2 separate regions of the Homo sapiens genome follow, and region 2 is linked to region 1. The links are contacts of gene promoters, found by promoter capture Hi-C in human tissues and cell types (Jung and others, 2019). All regions are on one chromosome and are shown on one strand. The core of a region is centred on a gene start or on the middle of the fragment in contact, and the rest is flanking DNA. Distances in the headings are between cores, read along the strand shown.

What was found. Contacts are between HindIII fragments. The study calls those that stand out against the background at their distance.
Region 2: a contact is called between a fragment that was not itself captured here and the fragment with the promoter of ZNF844 in region 1, in 1 of the 25 tissues and cell types used here (spleen).

The regions. Positions count from the first base shown.
Region 1 is chr19:12,062,419-12,067,226 of GRCh38, reverse strand. ZNF844 (zinc finger protein 844) reads right to left here and starts at 2,496. Exons shown (of 4, transcript NM_001136501.3): 1 at 2,351-2,496. The coding sequence starts at 2,353. RefSeq lists a silencer at 2,052-2,231 and an enhancer at 2,322-2,411. The HindIII fragment of the contact is 18,413 bases long and covers 1-4,808 here.
Region 2 is chr19:12,571,597-12,576,404 of GRCh38, reverse strand. It overlaps ZNF490 (zinc finger protein 490), which reads left to right. Exons shown (of 5, transcript NM_020714.3): 5 at 1-305. Among named protein-coding and RNA genes, the nearest start is that of LINC02926, 22 kb to the right of the region's middle. The HindIII fragment of the contact is 5,850 bases long and covers 1-4,808 here.

The DNA of each region.
Region 1 (4,808 bases), core at 1,247-3,746:
AATCTCATTATTATTATTATTTTACTTGAGAGGGAGTCTCACTCTGTAGCCCAAGCTGGAGTGCAGTGGCGCGATCTCAGCTCACTGCAAACTCCACCTCCCGGGTTCAAGTGATTCTCCTGCCTCAGCCTCCGGAGTAGCTGGGACTACAGGAGCGTACCACCACACCCAGCTAATTTTTTATGGAAATCTCATTATTTTTAAGTTGACAATATTATTTTATTACTATTTCCATGATAATGAAACCACTTTTGCAAAAACTGTAACACTGAAAAAATTATGGCAGTCAAAGAGATCTAGCCAACTGCTTCTCTTGTCTTTACCTTTCAAGCTGCCTTAATTACTCCTAGGCTTAGGCTGAGCTAACTTTAGAAGACATTTGGCCGGGCGAGGTGGCTCACGCCTGTAATCCCAGCACTTTGGGAGGCCGAGGTGGGCGGATCATGAGGTCAGGAAATCCAGACCATCCTGGCTAACACGTTGAAACCCCGTCTCTACTAAAAACACAAAAAATTAGCCGGGCTTGGTGGCAGGCGCCTGTAGTCCCAGCTACTCCGGAGGCTGAGGCAGGAGAATGGCGTGAACCCGGGAGGCAGAGCTTGCAGTGAGCCGAGATCGCGTCACTGCACTCCAGTCTGGGCGACAGAGGGAGCCTCCGTCAACAACAACAACAAAAAAAAAAAAAAAAAAAAAAAAGAAGACATTTATGTTATAGTTTAAATGATAATAGCTCTTCCTTAAACACTGCCTTCCTAAAGCTAATGAAAAACCATGAGTCGGGGCGGGGGGAACAGAGTGGGGAGCGATGAGGAGCCTGAATTTTGCTATGGTATAGACTGGTCCCAAGATACTTCTGCAGATAAGTGTTTTCAGGTTTTTTGCTTGTCTGACACCCATGGCTCCACTCAGGCCCACCAACCCTGCTCCTCTATAAGCAACTCAGCACTCAGGAGGACCATTTCCCACCACCTCTTCCCCGATTCTGCCTTTGAAAAACCCCTGGCCGAGTTCGGTGGCTCACACCTGTAAACCCAGCACTTTGGGGGGCCGAGGTGAGCAGATCGCTTGAGCCCAGGAGTTCAAGACCAGCCTGGGCAACATGGCGAAACCCCATCTCTACCAAAAATACAAAAATTAGCCGCCTGCGCCTGTAGTCCCAGCTACTCGGGAGGGTGAGGCAGCACAATCACCTGAGCTGCTGCTCAGGTGGGTCCAGGATGCAGTGAGCCGTGATCGCGCCATGCACTCCAACCTGGGCGACAGAGTGAGACCTTGTTTAAAAAACAATTTTTAGCCGGGCCAGGTGGCTCACGCCTGTAATCCTAGCCCTTTAGGAGGCCGATGCGGGCGGATCACCTGAGGTCAGGAGTTCAAGACCACCTTGGCCAACACGGTGAAACCCCGTCTTTACTGAAAATACAGAAATCAGCAGGGCGTGGTGGCGTGCCTGTAACCCCAGCTACTAGGGAAGCTGAGCAGAAGAATCGCTTGAATCCGGGAGGCAGAGGTTGCACTGAGCCCAGATCGTGTCATTGCACTCCAGCCTGGGCAAAAAAGAGCGAGACTCTGTCTTAAAAAAAAAAAAAAAAATTGTAAGAAAAAAATATTAAAGAAAAATCCCTAACTATAAGCCTTCGGGGAGACTGATTTGAGTGCTAACTCTGTCTCCGTCTTCGGCGTTGCGTGGTCCATCTCGTGTCAAACATTTTCTTTACTGCAATGCCCTGGTCTTTCTTTTTGCAGCACAGGCAGGAAGAACCCCTCAGGCGATTACAACAACAAAGCATCTAGTACACATTGATCATGATGTGAACAAAAACACGACAGCAGTTGCCAAGCTCTAAGCCACAGACAGCAGGGAAAACATTTATCCGCTGTCACAAGTTCTCCACGCTAGGCCAGGCGCGGTGGCTCACGCCTCTATTCCCAGCACCGGGCCTGTTTAAGTTTTAACAGGAGAAAGGGGGCACTGAGGGCCTCACAGCGCAGCTCCTCCCGCACGAGCCCCACACCCAAGGCGGGATTGCCCCCATGACCCTCCCGTGGCCCCGCACAATATGGAGAGGCTCCGGGCTGCGGGCGCGGAGCTGTCCAGAGAGGGCTCCCGGGCTGGGGCCGCAGTCGCCGCGCGGCGACGAGACAGGGCGCCCAGGGGTCCCGGCTGCCGGCCCAGCCGCACCCGGCGGCCGAATGGACCGAAGGCCGAGCTGCGCCAGCGGGGCTCGGGCCCCAGACCTCGAGTCGCCGCGGGGAGGTCCGGGTCCCGGCACAGCCGGTTCCAGCCAGTTCCAACCAGCCTCCGCCTACCCTCCCCCAAGTCTCGGGACTCCCAGCGGGGGCTCACACTCACCATTTCCTGGCTTTCAGGTGACTCCCACGTCCAAAGCAGTCACAACACAGACGACAGGGCGACAGAAGTATGGCGGTGGCAACCGGTCCCTCTCAGAGCAGGAAAAACGGGGTGCCAACCTCACCCGGCGGGAGGGGCCAAAGACTGAGGCGAACGGCAATGTGACCCGCGGATAAACAGTTGGCCGGGCCCCACCCCGGCGACTCTGATTGGGTGGAGCGCCAGGCCCCGCCCCCTGCATCCTGAGTGACAGCAGAAGTCCTGGGTAACAGGGCCAAGCAGAGCAGGACTGACCGCTTCAAGCCACAGTCCAAGGTCAAGTTCCCTCTCTACGCCCTGCTCTTTGAAAATTTGCATTTCGGCCAAACTTGCTCGTCTTAATTACTAGAAGTGGCTCTGTCAATGGTCTGTCCCTGCTTCTTCGTCCTGCACAGTGTCATAAGTGTGTGCAGGGAGTTCCAGACTCTATGTTTAATAGAGGTGAAAGCAATTAAAATATTTTATTCCAAAATATATTTATTTGGCAATTTCGAATGGCTGCAGCTTTGCCCTTGCACAACTGTCTTCTGGGGGGTGAAATTTGCGTCTATGGAGTATTTCCATTAGTGAAGCCATGCCCCCTCTCCCCTTTTCCCTTTCCCTGATCCGGGAGAAATTGAGAGTCTGACACTTTTAAAAGTCTGGAAAGCCGGGCGCGGCGGCTCACGCCTGTAATTTCAGCACTTTGGGAGGCCGAGGCGGGTATATCACCTGTGGTCGGGAGTTCGAGACCAGCCTGGCCAACATGGTGAAACCACATCTCTACTAAAATACAAAATATTAGCCAGTCGTGGTGGCGGACGCCTGTAATCCTAGCTATGTGGGAGGCTGAGGCAGGAGAATCACTTGAAGCTGGGAGGCGGAGGTTGCAGTGAGCCGAGATCATGCCACTGGACTCCAGCCTGGGCAACAAGAATGAAACTCCGTCTCAAAAAAAACAAAAACAAAAAAAGTCTGGAAAGAGGCCAGGCAAGGTGGCTGGGGCCTGTAATACCAGCACTTTAGGAGGCCAGGGCAGGAGAATCACTTTGGCCCAGGAGTCGAGGGCTGCAGTGAGCTGTGATTGCACCAGTACACTCCAGCCTGGGCAACAGAGTGAGACCAAAAAACAAAATAAGTAAGAAATTCTGGTTTTGCTTTTTTTTTTTTTTTTTTTTGAGATGGTGTCTTGCTCTGTTGCCCAGGCTGGAGTGAGTGACGCGATCTCGGCTCACCGCAAGCTCCGCCTCCCGGGTTCACGCCATTCTCCTGTCTCAGCCTCCCGAGTAGCTGGGACCACAGGCGCCTGCCACCATGCCTGGCTAATTTTTTGTGCTTTTAGTAGAGACGGGGTTTCACCGTGTTAGCCACGATGGTCTCGATCTCCTGACCTCGTGATCCGCCCGTCTCGGCCTCCCAAAGTGCTGGGATTACAGGCGTGAGCAACCGTGCCCGGCCAGAAATTCTTAAAAGAAGCATTTTGCATCCATTCTCTCTGTGGGAGTCTTCATCTATGTTGTGGGTGAGTGGCTACTATCTGGGCCAGTGGCGCAAGGGTAAAAGAATTTATCAAGACTGGCCGGGCGATGTGGCTCACACCTGTAATCCCAGCACTTTGGGAGACCGAGGCGGGCGGATCACCTGAGGTCAGGAGTTTGAAACCAGCCTGGCCAATGTGGCGAAACCCCATCTCTACTAAAAATACAAAAATTAGCCGGGCTTGGTGGTGGGCGCCTGTAATCCCAACTACCCAGGAGGCTGAGGCAGGAGAATCGCTGGAGAATCGGGAGGCAAAGGCTGCAGTGAGTCGAGATTGTGCCACTGCACTCCAGCCTGGGCAACAGAGCAAGACTCCATCTCAAAAAAAAAAAAAAAAAAAAAAAGGGATTTACCAAGACAGTTGTAGGTAAAAAAAAAAAAAAAAAAAAAAAAAAAGGCAGATTTATTAAGGAAAATATGAAAGTACCTTGCAAGAAGGCAACAGGCAGAACCAGCAGAAGGGAGCCGGCTGCAAAGAAACAAAGGTTTGCTAGAGATTTTATAGAATGCAACTTGGGAACTTGCATTGTTTTGTCACCTGAAATGTTTGATAAATCAAGGTTTTTGATGGTAAGCAAGAAATTTGTGAGTTATGTACATTATTTGTTTAGGAGGGCTATTTGTTCTGGGCCGTAAAGAAAGTGATACCTATGGCCAGGCACGGTGGCTCACGCCTGTAATCCCAGCACTTTGGGAGGCCAAGGCGGGCAGATCACCTAAGGTCAGGAGCTCAAGACCAGCTGGCCAACATGGCGAAACCCAGTCTCTACTAAAAAATACAGAAATTAGCCAGGCCTGGTGGCGGGTGCCTGTAATCCCAGCTACTCTGGAGGCTGAGGCAGGAGAATTACTTGAACCTGGGAGGTGGAGGTTGCAGTGAGCGAGATGCTGAGATTGAGTG
Region 2 (4,808 bases), core at 1,340-3,839, 510 kb before region 1:
CCTCCTGAGTAGCTGGGATTACAGGCGCGTGCCACCATACCGAGCTAGTTTTTTTATTTTTAGTAGAGACGGGGTTTCACCATGTTGGCCAGGATGGTCTCGCCCTCCTGACCTTGTGATCTGCCTGCCTCGGCCTCTCAAAGTGCTGGGATTAGAGGCTTGAGCCACCAGGCCCGGCTGGAATGCTTGCATTTTCTTGCCTGATTTCCCTGGGAGCACCCCCCTTAACACTGAATGGAGCTGGTGAGAGCAAATATCCTTGTTTCTGATATTAGATATTAAAAATATGGTTTTTCACCATCAAAGATTTTATTGAGTTTTTCATATATGCCTTGTAGCAATTTGAGTAAATTATATTCCTTGTTTGTTGCAGATTTTTAATCATAAATGGGTGTTGAATTATGTCATGCTTTTTTGCATCAATTGAGACTGTCATTTTTCCGTCATTTCCTAATGTGGTGTATTCCACTGATCAATTTCCATATGGTGAACCATCCTTACATTCCAGGGACAAATCTCACTTGGTTATATTGCATAATGCTTTGAATATATTGCTTTATATGCTTTGCTGGCATTTATTTCAAGATTTTTGCATCAGTACTCATAAGGGACAGGAATGCCATCTTCCTTGCTCTCACGCCATGTCACACTTGCTTGAGAGCCCTGCATTGTTCTCTCTGATACCTCATTTTTGTAATAAGCCTTTTCATACTCTCGGTGTGTGTGTGCACCACATAGCTCTCGGTGTCAACCTCTGAAGCACACCTTTTCAGGCAACCGTAACAGTTGGCACTGTCAGCAGGATGTCTAGATGTTGGTCACCATGCAATGGGTCAGCTTTCCCTTTCTCTCAGGTGCTAACCTGCTCTGCTACCTGGTGGCCAGCATGCTCTTTGAGCTGCTGCTGCTTGCTGCTCTGTGTTCCATTGCTGAGGCCGAACAAACTTGTGTTCCAGATTTAGCCAACCGAAGATGGCAGTTTCTATAAGTCTTTGGCATTTAGGAGCAGGAGTATCGGATTTGGGCCCTCCTTAAAATGGTCTGGGCTAGGAGTTTTCACTTTGCCTTTCTATGTAGAATGAAGCTGGGACTGATGCTAGGTGTTGGCCTTGTCCTGTAGGTCTGGTGGTGGGGGCTGGTGGTGAGATTTTATCTTGTGCATGTTGGGGCCCCATTAGTGGTCATTCCTGAAAGAGCAGTCATTTGAAAATGAGAAAGAGCCTGGCGCAGTGGTGGTGGCTCACGCTTGTAATCCCACCACTTTGGGAGGCCAAGGCAGACAGATCACCTGAGGTCAGAAGTTTGAGACCAGCCTGGCCATTATGGTGAAACCCCATCTCTACTAAAAATACAAAAATTAGCTGGGCATAGTGGTGGACGCCTGTAATGCCAGCTACTCGGGAGGCTGAGGCAGTAGAATCTCTTGAACCTGGGAGGCAGAGGTTGCAGTGAGCCGAGATCGCACCACTGCACTCCAGCCTGGGCGACAGAGTAAGACTCCGTCTCAAAAAAAAAAAAAAAAAAGTGAGAAAGAAGGCTAGGCGTGGTGGTTTACACCTGTAATCACAGCTACTCAGGAGACTGAGGCAGGAGTATCACTTGAACCTGGGAGGTGGAGGTTGCGGTGAGCTAAGATTGCCCTACTGCACATAAACCTGGGCAGCAGAGCGAGACTCCATCTCAAAAAAAAGAAAAAAGAAAAAATGCGAAAGAAGAGAAGGTGGGGAAGCTACCATTAGATGGTGTCCTGAAGTTCACACTCAGCTGGACCTTTAAGTACCTCTGCTGCTGCCGCTGCCCATGCCTCTATCTCAACAGAGACCCTGATCCTCTGGGTTATAAGGGACAACCCCTGTGGCATTCCTGTAGCTCAACAAACGTATTCAAACCTGAATAAATCCCAGTATCCTTAAATTATGTAAAGCATCTGTTGTCATCCAGGAAATTCCTGCTAGGGTTTCAATGTCTTCTCCATAGTTATTGAAATATGGTCCAGTGTAGTGGTTTTAGGCCTAGTGGGAGGTGTTTAAGTCATAGGGTAGATGCCTCATGAAAGACTTCATGCTCTTCTCATTAGTAAAATCTTGTTCAGGCTGCATCTGGAGAGGGTTTCACCTGCCTACATTTGCGGCAGAAAGCAGAAGGGGAACCAGCGTGTGCAGAGATCACGTGGTGAGACAGGAAGTAAGAGGACATCAAGGAAGACAGACCCTTTAATAACCTACTCTCGTGGGAACCATTCCTGTGAAAGCAATAACAGAAGGGCGTTAATCTATTGTGATGGAGTTGCCTTTTTGACCCAAACACCTGCCACCTGGCCGCACCTCTCAAAACAGCTGCTTTGGAGATCAGATGTCAACGTGAGGCCAGGCATAGTAGCTCACACCTGTAATGCCAGTGCTTTAGGACACAAGGTGGGAGCATTACTTGATCCCAGGAAGTTGAGACCAGCCTGGTCAGCATAGCTAGGCCCCATTTAATTAATTTATTTATTTATTTATAGATGGAGTCTCCCTGTTGCCCAGGCTGGAGGCGCGATCTCGGCTCACTGCAATCTCCGCCTCCCGGGTTAAAATTTTTAATTTTAACATCTCTGTAATGCACTAACTGACAATCCTTCATGGGATTAATCAATCCCAGGAATCAGTTATATCTAGGAGTCCCACTAAATGTAAGAAGGTACACTCTATAATTTATTTATTTATTTATTTTGAGACAGAGTCTTGCTCTATGGCCCAGGCAGGAGTGCTGAGACAGACTCTCACTCTGTCGCCCAGGCTGGAGTGCAGTGGCGCGATCTCAGCTCACTGCAACCTCCACCTCCGGAGTTCAAGCTATTCTCCTGCCTCAGCCTCCCGAGTAACTGGGACTACAGGCACGTGCCACCACACCTGGCTAATTTTTTGTATTTTTAGTAGAGATGGGGTTCCACCATGTTGGTCAGGCTGGTCTCGATCTCCTGACCTTGTGATCCACCAGCCTCGGCCTCCCAAAGTGCTGGGATTACAGGAGTGAGCCACCTCACCTGGCCTGACTTGAGCTCCCAATAGCTTGCAGGTAAGAGTTTTTGGGTTTTTTGTTTTGTTTTGTTTTGTTTTTCTGAGACGGAATCTTGCTCTGTCACCCAGGCTGGAGTGCAATGGTGCAATCTCGGCTCACTGCAACCTCTGCCTCCTGGGTTTAAGCAATTCTCCTGCCTCAGTCTCCCCCGTCCCCGCCCCCGAGTAGCTGGGATTACAGGCACCTGCCACCACGCCCAGCTAATTTTTTGTATTTTTAGTAGAGATGGGGTTTCACCATGTTGGCCAGGCTGGTCTTGGACTCCTGACCTCGGGTGATCTGCCCACATTGGCCTCCCAAAGTGCTGGGATTATAGGGGTAAGCCACCGCACCTGGCCGCAGGTAAGAGTTTTTAAAGGCAGGAGTATTGTAAAGACAGCAGGGGAAACACACACACAGACACACACGGAAAAGGCAGGGGTAAATTTCAGGAAAGCAGAGGCTACAGGCAAGAATCATAAATCAGTACATGGAGGTTACACAGTGGTATAAGCTTAAAAGAATGGAATATCTTGAAGTGGGGCTCATAAGTCACAGGTAGATTCAAAGATCACATTTGCAATTGGTTAAGGAAGAAAGAAGTAAGCTGGGCGCGGTGGCTCACGCCTGTAATCCCAGCACTTTGGGAGGCCGAGGCCGGCGGATCACCTGAGGTCAGGAGTTCGAGACCAACCTGATCAACATGACGAAAACTGGTCTCTACTAAAAATACAAAAATTAGCCGGGCGTGGTGGTGGGTGCCTGTAATCCCAGCTTCTCGGGAGGCTGAAACATGAGAATAGCTTGAACCCGGGAGGCGGAGGTTGCAGTGAGCCAAGATTGCGCCATTGCACTCTAGCCTGGGCAACAGAGCGAGACTCCATCTCAAAAACAAACAAAAAAAAAAGGAAGAGAGAAGTTTTGTTTAAAAATTTAAGCTAGGCTGGGCAAATGGCTCACACCTGTAATCCCAGCTACTTGGGAGACTGAGGCAGGCGAATCGCTTGAACTCGGGAGGTAGAGGTTGCAGTGAGTTGAGATCACGCCATTGCACTCCAGCCTGGGCAACAAGAGTGAATCTCCGTTTCAAAAAAAAAAAAAAAACTTTAAGTTAGGTGCGGTGGCTCATGCCTGTAATGCCAGCACTTTGCGAGGCCTAGGCAAGAGGATCATTTGAGGCCAGGATTTCAAGACCAGCCTAGGCAACATAACAAGACTTCATCTCTGAGAAAAATGAGGTCATAAGATTAAAAAAAAGAAAAATCGGGTTGTCACGCGTGTCCGTGTGAAGAGACCACCAAACAGGCTTTGTGTGAGCAGTAAAGCTGTTTATTTCACCTGGGTGCAGGCAGGCTGAGTCCAGAAAGAGTCAGTGAAGGGAGATAGGGGTGGGGCTGTTTTATAGGATTTGGGTAGGTAGTGGAAAATTACAGTCAAAGGGGGTTGTTTTCTCGCGGGCAGGAGTGGGGGTCATAAGGTGCTCAGTGGAGGAGCTTCTGAGCCAAGAAAAGGAATTTCACAAGGTAATGTCAGTTAAGGCAGGAACCAGCTATTTTCACTTCTTTTGTGATTCTTCACTTGCTTCAGGCCATCTGGATGTATTCGTGCAGGCTTGGGCTCAGAGGCCTGACAGGGGTCAGTAGAAAAATAACTGGTTACAGGGAGTGACTTTCTCTAATCCCCCAAGGAAGAAACAGAACAAAGGTCAAGTTTAGTCTTCACTTCTTCCTTATCTAGGAGTCTGTGCCAGTGAATGGATCTGTTCAGCG